Regions from separate parts of the Homo sapiens genome. Here regions 2, 3 and 4 are each linked to region 1. Evidence: promoter capture Hi-C in 16 types of primary human blood cells and fetal thymus (Javierre and others, 2016). All regions are on one chromosome and are shown on one strand. The core of a region is centred on a gene start or on the middle of the fragment in contact, and the rest is flanking DNA. Distances in the headings are between cores, read along the strand shown.

Region 1 (3,117 bases), core at 192-2,691:
ACCCCCACCCACGCACTACTATCCACGTGAATCTGGGGGTGGGCGGGTGGGGGGAGTAGAAATCGACCAGGAAGGCGTTTGCCTTGCTTGCCCTGTGCGCTCACTCAAGAGCCGTCTCCCGGAAAATAAAGAAAAAGCACAGAACAGCCCACACCTTCTTCCCCAACTATTGTTTCTCAAAGATCCCAAAGTTTCCTTCTAGCCGCGTCCCCACGGCCAAGTTTCCCGGGCTCAGGACGGCGTGTCCGGGGCGAGCTGCTGGCGTTGCTTGGCCCCGCCGGCCTCCTTCTTTGGGGGGGGGGGGGCGGCGGTGGCACCCCACGGCAACGGACGTGCAGGGGGACTGTGTCCGTAGACGTGATGGCCTGAGCCCAGTCCTGCTGCTAGAGGGAAGGAAAAAGGCGAAGTAGGAGGGAGAGAGAGAGACAGAGCCGAGCCCACGCCGTGGAGAGCTGTTTGGTTGTTATTGTTGTAGTGTGTGTCTGTGTGTTTTCTTTCTGGAACCTCTGAGCTCTGCCTATGGTTTCCAACTTTCGGCTTCTAATCCCCACCCCACCCAGGAACGAGCAACAGAAAAACAACACTTGTCTGCCTGAGAAGGCTCCGGAAAAAAAAAAAAAAAAAAGGAAGAAAAGCGACCTCAAAGAGATGAGCTCTCGGCTCAGTTGTCAGCAAACAACAACACTCCCCCGCTCCTCCGCTGGGCCATCCTCCCAGCCCCAGCCCGCCGGAGAGGACAGACCGACGCACCGACAGGCCCCTCTCCCCCTCGCCCGTCTTTGTTACATCTTTAGCAGCTTTGTGCGTGCGTGTCCTTTCTCCGGTGTCATCGGCTTTACTGCCAAGGGCTGGATGTGTATGTTGGGCGGGGGGGGGACGGGCCGAGCTCGCAACAGGGGTCGCCCAAGTGGGCGAGAAAGAAAGAACCGGGCGCCGAGGAAGAGCAGGGGCCCCCAAACTTACTTTTGTTTTCTTTCTCGATCTGCTCCAGGTAGCTGGCGGCCTCGAGCAGAATCTGCACGTTCTGCAGAAAAGTGTTGATGTGCTTCTCCATCGAGTTCTCGCTGGTGTTGAAAATGTCTGAGAAGGGGCACCTGGGCTTGGCCCCAGCGGGGTCCTCGGGCAGGGCCGGGGGCTGGGGCGCGGCCACGGCGGGGGGCACAGCCGGGGGCGCGGCGGGGGCCAGCCCCGCGCCCTCGCAGCGCGCCTCCTTGCGCGGCCGCCCGCGTTTGCCCATGGAGGAGCGGGGGTCCGCCGAGCTCGTCCTCTAACGGGGCTGCGCGGCCCGGCCGAGCTCCGGGCCCCCAGGGAGACCCGGCCGGCTGGAGCAGAGAAGGCGCCGGGGCGAAAAGCCGGCCTGACTTCCCGAGCCTCGCTGCCTGCAGTTGTGTGTGTGAGTGTATGGGAGTGTGTGTCGGTCTCGCTGTGAGTCTGTGTGTATGGGAGATTGAATGAACCTACAGGACAGACGGAGGCACTCTGGCGCCTGGGTCCTAGTGCGAGCCTGTCGCCATCGGACCGGTCAAAATAAAAGGTGGAGACTAGCGAGCGAGGCAGGGACCGCCCCTGCCCGTCCCCGCAGGCTTCCCTGCCTCTCCCCAAGGCTTACCACAGAGTAGAACACTGTCTTTTAACCGGAATGGAAAAAAATACCTGATGTCTCTGGGTGCACCTGCATAAAAACAAACTACTTTTTTCACAGAAAAATAATGCCTCAGAAAGTGTCCAGCACAATGCCTGGCACATAGTTAGGTCCCCATACATGGTGGCTGCTATGACTTAAAAATAAATAAATAAAAGCTCCCCAATCCAAATGGGAAGAAGGGAACCAGTGTGTAACCAGAAGATCCCCCCACCCCCAACACAAACACTCCTACTCACAGACACACATACATACGTAATCACGCACACACTTGCGAGGCACCTGTGTGTGCCTTCACACAGTCAAATGAAATCCCAGGCCGTCCAAATCCGAGTTACAGATTTACTCATGCCTTTCTCCCTTCAAATGCAAAGTTATTTTCCAGAAGTGGGAGGAGATGTCAGCATCCCTCTCCACACTCCTCTGCCCAGCCTTGGTTCAGCTGTGCAAAGCTCACACCAGGATGCCTCCACACCTGGCTCCCTTTAATTTGAGAGGCAGAAGTGGCAGCTCAGGAACCACCCCCCTCCCCAGCTGAATTCCACCTTTTGCCTCTGAAAACCCCTACCCCAGCTGACATTGTTTCACTGCCACTGCTGTCCGCAATCATGGATGCTTTCCAGCCCTGGGAAGTACTGGAGGTGTCAGGGGATGATTGAAGGCTGCTCTAGGGTGCCATAGGAAAGGGTTCAAATCCCAGCTCTGCTGCATACAGACTGTGTGAGCTTGGACAAGTCCCTTAACCTCTCTTGGCCTAAGTTTCCACATCATTGAAATGTGTGATAAGATGCTTGTGTATTGTATCTGACTTAGCACACTCTGGCCCATGGTAAGCTCTTTTTCTTCCAATCCAGACCCAGGCAAGAGCCTGAGTCCCCTATTCTGATGTAACTTGTATCTAAGAAAGGAACAAGATGTAGTGAACAAGACTCTTCTGCACTTCCTTGGAAAATATCTCTATGACAAGCCCATCTAAATATGGTTACTTTGCAAGGTCACCTGGAGTTTTCCTCCAGGGGAACCATTTATATAGAGGACAAAGACAATGCTGCCCCCTGGAGGTGTGCGATGCAGCCACCCTACTCAAAGGCAGCTTCATACACATTGTCATAAAAACTCTTGATGGCCGGACGCAGTGGCTCACGCCTGTAATCCCAGCACTTTGGGAGGCCAAAGCGGGCAGATCACCTGAGGTTGGGAGTTCGCGACCAGCCTGACCAACATAGAGAAACGCTGTCTCTACCAAAAATACAAAATTAGCCGGGCGTGGTGGCGCATGCCTGTAATCCCAGCTACTCCGGAGGCTGAGGCAGGAGAATGGCGTGAACCCGGGAGGCGGAGCTTGTAGTGAGCCGAGATAGCGCCACTGCACTCCAGCCTGGGCGACAGAGCCAGACTCCGTCTCAAAAAAAAAAAAAAAAAAAGTTTATCTTCCATTATTAGAACAATTACTGATTTTTTGCTTCTGTGAGAAC
Region 2 (3,117 bases), core at 229-2,728, 220 kb after region 1:
CCCTGCCAAGTGGAATCACTATCCTGACTTCTAACCCCATAGATCGGTTTTCTAACCATTATGAACTAAACATATTGTTTAATCCTTGAACAACTCTGAGATAGAATTTATATCCATTTTACAGCTTTAACGTGTGTACTTTTTTTGTATCTGGCTTCTTTCACTCATGTTTATAAGTGAAATGGAATGTCCTTGCCCATGGTTATAGATTGTTGCCACCTAAGTTTTAAGCAAGGGAGTAGTGTGGGCTGACCTCTGGGTTAGAAAAGCTACTTTAGCAGCTTCGAGGAGGGTAGAATAGAAAGACAAGAAGACCCATGGAAGGAGCTAGGGAAATAATCCACACAAGAGATGATGAGGACTGACCCAGAGCCCAAGCAGTGGGGGTAGAGAAGGGGTGGAAAGATCAGAGCTCTGGAGAAGCAATTCAAAACATGTGTTCCATTTACAGTGTCCTTCAAACACAGAGGAGAACACTCAGCTGAATGCTCAGAACCCAAGCAACATTAATTGACCACAGCATTAGTTTGGGTGCTTTTCAAGATTTAAATGAAACAAGCTACATCTCTCTGAGAGTCTATTGTCATAGATGACCGGGATGAGACAGAAGAAGCTAACACAATGTGGATGAATGACAGGGTCCCTTGAGACTTTAATGACCTCAAGTGATGTTGGAAGAGTTTTGTAGCTGATTTCTTTTTCTTACATATATTTTGAGTAGCAGAGTGTCAACATAAAATTTAGATTGGTAAGGAAAACAACACCAGGATTGAAGAGAAAACAGGGGTAGGTAAGAGTTTTAGCAGAAAGTTGAGAGGGATGAGGCTGTGAGTGGGTGTGTAGTACAGACAGAGGGGAGATGGCTGGTGAAGCATGAAGTGAGAACTCATTCTGCATCTATCTTAATCTCACGCTTCTCAAACTTGGGTGTATATATCTCTGAAAGCATGTCAGGAGGAACTAGAGCCACCCAATAAATATAGTACATTTTCTTGGAATGTTCATTTTATGCTAGGACTGAGGAGAAAGATTCCATTTATTTGGAAACAAACAATGTGTTATGGAGTAGAATGCAAACTTCATGTGAAGTTTTAAGTTAAAACATAAGACTTTAAGTATATTTCTAGCAAATGCTTTTTTGGCCTTCAGCCCCAATGCCTCCCTTGTGATTAGGTAAAATCCAGAAGAAAAGTTTTGCAAAATCTCATCTCCGTCACTTTTGACTCCATGCTCCACTCTATGCTGCTAGGACCTACACTGAGCTCTTTTCCAGACTGTGGTGTTACTCATTCAGCAACATTCCTTCCTTTCTTTACTCACTCATTCCAAACATGTTAAGTAAGGGCCTGCCCTATTGTAGGACCTGGGAGATAGTTTTCTCCTGTACAATACTGTAAGTTCCAGAAAGGACTGTGCCTTAAAAGAAAACATTTAGAATCCCTACAGCGTTTGTCAAAACTTGCACATATTAAATGTTTTATAAATATTTGTTGACATAAAATGAAATGGGATATTTGCCAAATCTTTGCAAAAACTCAGAGAGGAATTAGGAGAGGGACAATAAAGAGGAGAGAAAGGTATGAATATATGTGAACTGCTAACCATTTTGAACTAAACATATTGTTTAATCCTTGAACAACTCTGAGATATAATCTATATCCATTTTACAGCCAAGGAAACTGAGGCTGAGAAAGAATAAAGTAACATGTTTGAAGCAACACAGCTAGTATCAGAGTACAGATTCAATCCCAGCTTTGTCTGGTACTAAGGTCCATGGAGGATATCTATAAAAATGTAAAATGCATGTGTCTTTTGACCCAGTAACTCTAGGAATTTATCGTCTAAATACAATCAAATAAGTGCTTAAAGATACAAACACAAGGATGCTCATTTTGGTGCTAATTGCTAATTGTACCACCACACCCAGCTAATTTTTGTGTTTTTAGTAGTGAAGAGGTTTCACCATGTCGACCAGCCTGGTCTCGAATGCCTGATCTCAAGTGATCCACCCAACTTGGCCTCCCAAAGTGCTGGGATTACAGGGGCGAGCCACCACTCCCAGCCAAAGTCAACTTAAACATAAGTATATATTACTTTTATAATAAAAAGCAAACAAGTTAATAAAATTAAATGAAAATAAAGCCTGCACTTAGATTTAAGTCCTTGATCTATCTTGAGTTGATTTTTATATAAGGTAAGAGATGAGGATCCAGTTTCATTCTCCTACAGGTGGCTTGCCAATTATCCAAGCACCATTTGTTGAATAGTGTGTCCTTTCCCCACTTTATGTTTTTGTTTGCTTTGTCAAAGATCAGTTAGCTGTAGGTATTTGGCTTTATTTCTTGGTTCTCTATTCTGTTCCATTGGTCTATGTGCCTATTTTTATACCAGTACTATGCTGTTTTGGTGACTGTGGCCTTATCGTATAGTTTGAAATCAGGTAATGTGATGCCTCTAGATTTGTTCTTTTTCCTTAGTCTTGCTTTGGCTATGCAGGCTCTTTTTTAGTTCCACATGAATTTTAAGATTTTTTTTCTAGTTCTGTGAAGAATGATAGTGGTATTTTGATGAGAATTGCATTGAATTTGTAGATTGCTTTTGGCAGTATGGTCATTATCACAATATTTATTTTACCCATCCATAAGCATGAGATGTTGATCCATTTGTTTGTGTCATCTATGATTTCTTTTAGCAGTATTTTGTAGTTTTCCTTGTATAGGCCTTTCACCTCCTTGGTTAGGTATATTCCTAAGTATTTAATTTTTTTGCAGCTATTGTAAAAGGAGTTGAGATCTTGATTTCTCAGCTTGGTTGCTTTTGCCTGAAACTATACAAACTCTAGAAGATAACATCAGAAAAAACTTTCTAGATATTGGCTTAGGCAAGGATTTCATGACCAAGAGCTCAAAAGCAAATGCAATAAAAACAAAGATAAATAGCTGGGACTTAATTTAAAGAGCTTTGCACGGCAAAAGGAACAGTCAGCAAAGTAAACAGACAACCCACAGAGTGGGAGAAAATCTTCTCAATCTATACATCTGACAAAGAACTAATATCTGGAATCTACGGCGAACTCAAACAAATTAACAGGAGAAAAAAAAAACCAATCCTATCAAA
Region 3 (3,117 bases), core at 193-2,692, 210 kb before region 1:
AGCTGGCCACTTATTGGATTGATGTAGCCCTTCTCCCACCCAGGCCTCTATGTCCTTACCCAGTAAAAGGTGTTTGGAATCCTCCAGGGATTGCAAACCATGCTAACCAAAATCTTGGCTTTTTCCAAGGGAGCTTCATGGCTTTTGTGAATACTCAATTCAAATATAATTCCCAAAATGTATTTTATTTATTTTTACTTATTTATTTTAAGACAGGGTCTCACTCTATTGCCTAGGCTGGAGTGCAGTGGCATGGATCATGGTTCACTACAGCCTCAAGCTCCTAGGCTCAAGTGATCCTCCCACCTCAGCCTTCTGAGTAGGTGAGACAATAAGTGTATGCCACCACACCCAGCTAATTTTTAATTTTTTTGTAGAGATGGGGGTCTCCCTATGTTGCCCAGGCTGGTCCTGGGCTCAAGCCATCCTCCCTCTTTGGCCTCCCAAAGTGCTGGGATTACAGGTGTGAGCCACTGTGCCTGGCCCAAAATGTATTTTAAACTACTTGAATATTTGTAATAAGCAGCACCATGCACATTTAGAAGTGATACGTGATTTTCACACACTGGAGCTCACCTCAGTTGTGTTCACACTGATTTCATAAGTAACACAGTAACATGTTGGAAACTTGAACTTCTTAGAAAATATATTTAAACTAGTGGAGTGAAGCTTTTATTGTTCACATACACTGGGGCCCTGTGTCGGGTCAAATCTTATTTGGAAAAAGGGTTCTGTTTAAAAAGATCTCACAGGCATTGGGCTTCGTCACCAGGAAGAGAGATAAGGAGAAGTGATATGACCAGTGTTTCTGGTGAGTGACTTCTGTGTCCCACAACTGTGTTGGAAGATTTTCTCAGCAGACTGCAGAACATCTTATCTGAGCTCTGGTCTGAGCAGTGCCACTGATTGGCAGACATTTGCAAGTTGGTTCTGGAAGTCACTGGTAGCTGACAGCTCCAGGCCAATCTGAAAGAGGTAGGGCCCGTTTCTGCACCAGGGCAGAAGAGTGAAGCCTTTCAGGAGCTGCCTGGGGATAAGAAACAAATACTAAGAACTCAAATCACAAGTTGCCTAGCTCCAATGTGCCAGGCGACGGGCTGCACCTCTCACCCATGCAAATACATTTGTCCCTCACATGTACATAAGGAGGTTTAGCCTCATTTTATAGGTGAGGAAAGTGGTACACAGATAGTTTGACACCCCCCAAATTCCCTAGCTAGTGAGTGACAGTGCTGGGAGCAAACCCCCAAGTCTGGGATGGGGATCAGAAACTCACAGTTTTAATGAGCACCCCAGGGGATTCAGGTAATTCTGATGCAGGTGGTCCACACACCCTTCTCCGAGAAATACTCTACTACATTATACTGGGTGCAGGGGCTGGATACAGACTGAAGTAGAAATAGTTCTGACCAACAGTGGCCTTGTCATCAGCACCTGCTTTTTACCAACCTTTTACCTAACAGGTGGCTCTGCCTGAACAAGGTCTTAGAGGGGTCTCTGGACATCTGATACAGGCAAGCATCTGCCCCTTTCTTTGCTTCCATTTTCACCTCAATAGAGCAAGGGATGACATCTTGGTGCCCTTCCTGCTCTCAATCCTGTGAATCCATTACCAGCCTCTGTGACCTGAGTACCAGACCAGGAGCTCCAAGGTTGGGTCTCAGAGTGGTAAAGGGTCTTGCTTGAGTCAAACAGTTAGTAAGTAGTAAAGCCTCCTTTAGTCAGGCTGCTGGGGTCCAGATCTCCACCATCTTAACTCCCAAGCAGTGGTGTCCCCAAGGACGGGGCCATAGGAATGGTGCACATGGGTACAATAAGAGGTCATATCATCTACAGAAAAATTACAAACAATAATAAACTGACTAACAGTGATGCACCAGCAATTCTAATCAACGTCAGTGATAAACTACTTCTGTCCCCGCCACACCCCCACTAGCTTGGTATGCCACCCACTGCCACCCTCTGCCGCATTCTCTCCTGGGGTTATGTGAGTCACTGCTGTGCAGTGAGGCTTCTCAGAGGAAGGAGAGGAAGAGACCTTGTTAGGGGTGGGGGTGAGGTCTCTTCAATGTGGTCCCCATCCGGCCACACCATCTGTGACAAAGACACCCAAGAGAATGTGGTCTGGGTGACTACAGGGCTCATTTACCTCAGGCTAAAAATAGGTGCATTCCCCGCAGCAGGTGGGTGACTCAGCAGGCCTGAGGAAAGCTTCTAGATGGAGGAAGCGCAGTCTTGCCAGCCCAGGTTTCCCCCCGGTACCAGAACAACAGGAAGGGGCTGATGACGGAATTGTAGCATGCATTTCACAACCCCTTCTGCGCCTCCCAACTTTCCCCTGCTGCCGTTCCCCAAACTCCCTGTTCAAAAATTGCTGTTCAAATTCCTGAAATTGCTAGTCCAATTGAGAGCCCAAATGAGACCATGTGGCCAACTGCTCAAACTTATGGTAGCTTTCTTCCAGACCTTAAAGAGAGAGGCGAGAGAAGGTGCATGCATGTATGTGTGTGTGCACACGTGTGTGAGAGCAGGTACATGAGAAGCAGGCCACAGAGCGTCTATACTGGAGTCTGCCTTTGTCTCTGACCTCCCAACCTGGCCGCTGGCCACATACAGTGGAACCCAAGGAGGACTGCTGATGCTCTCTGATCATTTTCTGCAATGCGTTATGCCCTGGGAAATGAAAAGTGCTCCCTTCTTTCCATCCCCAGACTTTTCAGGAAGCAAGCACAGTCCTGACCTTCTAGATATATCTCCAGAGGCTCAACAGAAGCTGAGGAGTGAGGCAATTATTTGAAGAATTCAACCCCACTTCAGGCAGCTGTCTGAGCAGATTGATGCAACGGGAAGAGGCAAGACTGAGCGCCAGGACCTAGTTTCTCGTCCTGGTGCTGCCGCTCATTTGCTTTGTGACCTTGAGCAAATCAGTTTTCCTCTCGAGCCTCTAGTTTCTTTCTCCTCTGCACATCCATTTGTTATTTCTTCAACAAATACCTATTAAATGCATACTGGGCCATGCACCTGAGTATACCATGCTAGATTCAGGAACAAGCAACTATGGAGGATGAAAAATGTCCAGGAAGTCTTTGCACCTCCTCCTAACAAAAACTAGCACTA
Region 4 (3,117 bases), core at 242-2,741, 180 kb after region 1:
TTATTCTCTACAAACCAAAATCTCAGGCAAAGGCACCAGAAGTTAAAAAAAAAAAAAATCAATCATTAACTTAAAAGAAATATTACATAGTTTTTATAAAAACTGACCTATAAGATTTTTAATATGAATATTGTCACCAGGAAACACAGCCAGACTCCAACCAGTTTAAACCAATGTAAAACATTAAATCCAAAAATTCTCAAGTACCTTGACCTTGTACCTGGGTCCTATTAAAACTGACTTAAAAGTACAATCAGCCGGGTGTGGTGGCTCACGTCTGTAATCCCAGCACTTTGGGAGGCCGAGGTGGGCGGATCACCTGAGGTCGGGAGTTCAAGACCAGCCTGACCAACATGGAGACACCCCATCTCTACTAAAAATACAAAATTAGCCAGGCGTGGTGGCACGTGCCTGTAATCCCAGCTACTCAGGAGGCTGAGGCAGGAGAATTGCTTGAACCGGGAGGCTGAGGTTGCAGTGAGCCGAGATCACGCCACTGCACTCTAGCCTGGGCAACAAGAGTGAAACTCCGTTTCAAAAAAAAAAAAAAAACAAGAAAACTGGGGTCATAAGTTCTATAATCTATTTCACTCAAATGACCTAAAACTATTCCTTTTCATTGGAGGGGTGGAACTGTTTCTCATTTAAATACATTCCTTTCCAAAAGAAAAAGGAATGTCAAGGCAGCCAAATACATCCATTCTGAATTTTCTATATAATGTTCCTAAACATGTCAGAAACATTTACCATGTACATGACTTGCTTCAGTGGTGAGCACACTAAAATTGGAACAATATACATAATATCAGTGTGGCTTCTATTAAGAAAACAAGAAAGATCCTGACACATTACAGATTTTGGAAAAAACTTCACAAAACTTTCCCAAATTCGATGAAATTTTTTTTTTCTTTTTTAAGGAAAAGGGAAAAACAGATATCTTGAAAAGAAGCCTCAAATCTGAGAGATTGGGGTCTCTCATCCTGTCCAAACCCTGCTCTAGGGAAGGTCAGGTGGAATTCTGACAAAACCCCTTACCCCAGAATTGCATGAATGGAGTTAAGATGGCTCGTAATGTAATGAAGTGAAAAAAGCACTGGACAGAGGCAGGAATCTCAGTTTTGAGTCTAGATCTGCCACAAGCAACATGTTGCCTTAAACACGGAACTTCCTTTAATCAGACTGGGTTCTTCACTCTTAAAATGAAGTAAGGTTTCCACAATTCTATGAATCTAGATTTTATCACCCTCTCTATTTCTATTTGCTTCTCCTTTAAAGTATACAGAGAATTCCTACGTCTACTCATATAACAGAAAGTCTGATTTTACACAAAGGCATAATTTTAGCATCTGAAGAAACTTGCAAGCCTAGAGACCCCTTACTTCTATTAACTAGGGGACTTGCTTTTAATTGAACCATGGAGGCAGAAGTTGGCTACCACCACTCTGAAGATTCCCATCTCTCCCACAAATATCGAACTAAAATTAAAAAAATATTAAATTAAATTAGTATTATTAAATTTAAAAAGTATTATTTATACTATAGTATGAGTGAAAGATTATTATAGCTACCACCTCCCACTTTCTATACCTCTGCCTTAGTGGAACGGACGCTAGGAAAGGAAACGTTTTAATAAAATGACAGCCAGGTGCGGTGGCTCACACCTGTAATCCCAGCACTTTGGGAGGCCGAGGTGGGTGGATCACTTGAGGCCAGGAGTTTAAGAGCAGCCTGGCCAACATGGCAAAACCCCGACGCTATTAAAAATACAAAAAAATTAGCCAGGCATGGTGGCGCACGCCTGTAACTCCAGCTATTCAGGAGGCTGAGGCACAAGAACCCACTTGAACCCAATGCACTCCTGCCTGGGTGATGGAGTGAGACTCTGTCTCCAAAAAAAAAAAAAAGAAAAGAGGAGGAAACTTGAGTGGTTTGGGGGTGACAACTTACTTTTCACTGTATACGCTTTTGTGCCTTATTTTGTTCCATGTCCTTATATTTCTTACTCAAAATTTCAAGTATTTAAAAAATAAATGGATTTTATAAAAATTTGATTCAAATAGTAAGTTTAACTTTGAAACCAATAAAATCATTCTTGCTTTTAAAAAACTGAGTGCTTTTCACTGATTTTCATTTTACTAAGAATTACTTTTGAGTAAGTTATTTTAAACATCTAACACTTAAAAATTTTAAGCATGAAAATTTTACATTGAAATAATCTAGAAGTTAGTTCTGTCAAATTCAGTGTTTTCTCCCACCCATTTATAAAATCACTATGTCCCAATATAAAGCCCTGTGTTAAATATCTTATTACAAGGAGCTACAAACAAAAATGGTCAACTGTGCATGCAACAAAGCTACTAGAGGAGCCAAATCATCTTGTTTCACCATTCAAATGTGCAAAAAGTCTTACTGGATTGGATTCTCCACTAAATTCACATAGCAAAAATAATTCTGCATGTGATTTTTTTTGGCAATAATTTATTATAGGTGCTTACGCTATGTTTACTTTTGAAGTTTCAAGATAAACCACCATATGTTATTAAGGGGAAACCAAGATGGCACAATGACTTCCTGTAATGACAACATGCAATACCTGATATTGCAAAGCCCAATGCCTTCAATTCTTTTGTTATTCCATTGCACAAAAGTTCTGTTTATAATTTCAACTTTTATTTTAGATTCAGGGTGTACCTCTGCAGGCTTATTACACGGGTATATTGTGTGATGCTGAGGTTTGGGGTACAATTGATCCTATCACCCAGGAAGTAAGCATTGTGCTGGACAGTTTTTCAGCCCTTATCCCCTCCCTCTCTTCTGCCTCTAGTAGTCCCCAGTGTCGACTGTTCTGTCTTTATGTCCACGTGTACCCAATGTTTACCTCCCACTTTAAGTGAGAACATGTGGTATTTGGTTTTCTGTTCCTGTGTTAATTTGCTTGGGATAATGCAATGCACAAAAGTTTAAAATTAAATGCAAAAACACAGCATAGGGGAAGCACCTTCATTTGTAAACAAAAAGACTATTCTTTAGCCAAAATGGTGACTATTCAACCACTTCCAAATTCATAAATGAAAACAAATTTAAAGACTGGACGATTGGGTAACACTTGAGCAGTAA

What was found. Contacts are between HindIII fragments. The CHiCAGO score rates a contact against its expected background, and 5 or more counts as called.
Region 2: a fragment that was not itself captured here is called in contact with the fragment with the promoter of MXI1 in region 1 in 8 of 17 cell types (naive B cells, total CD4 T cells, erythroblasts and 5 more); the score reaches 8.0 in naive B cells.
Region 3: a fragment that was not itself captured here is called in contact with the fragment with the promoter of MXI1 in region 1 in 2 of 17 cell types (naive B cells and fetal thymus); the score reaches 5.5 in naive B cells.
Region 4: a fragment that was not itself captured here is called in contact with the fragment with the promoter of MXI1 in region 1 in 2 of 17 cell types (naive CD8 T cells and activated CD4 T cells); the score reaches 7.0 in naive CD8 T cells.

The regions. Positions count from the first base shown.
Region 1 is chr10:110,205,929-110,209,045 of GRCh38, reverse strand. MXI1 (MAX interactor 1, dimerization protein) reads right to left here and starts at 1,441. Exons shown (of 6, transcript NM_130439.3): 1 at 964-1,441. The coding sequence starts at 1,237. RefSeq lists a silencer at 1,191-1,270 and an enhancer at 2,860-3,117. The HindIII fragment of the contact is 6,685 bases long and covers 1-3,117 here.
Region 2 is chr10:109,985,791-109,988,907 of GRCh38, reverse strand. All of the region lies in intron 2 of ADD3-AS1 (ADD3 antisense RNA 1), which reads left to right. Among named protein-coding and RNA genes, the nearest start is that of ADD3, 21 kb to the left of the region's middle. RefSeq lists an enhancer at 1,062-1,563. The HindIII fragment of the contact is 9,885 bases long and covers 1-3,117 here.
Region 3 is chr10:110,413,769-110,416,885 of GRCh38, reverse strand. No RefSeq gene overlaps it. Among named protein-coding and RNA genes, the nearest start is that of DUSP5-DT, 81 kb to the left of the region's middle. RefSeq lists enhancers at 2,139-2,268, 1,443-2,642. The HindIII fragment of the contact is 1,542 bases long and covers 672-2,213 here.
Region 4 is chr10:110,023,718-110,026,834 of GRCh38, reverse strand. All of the region lies in intron 1 of ADD3 (adducin 3), which reads right to left. Among named protein-coding and RNA genes, the nearest start is that of ADD3-AS1, 17 kb to the right of the region's middle. The HindIII fragment of the contact is 8,514 bases long and covers 1-3,117 here.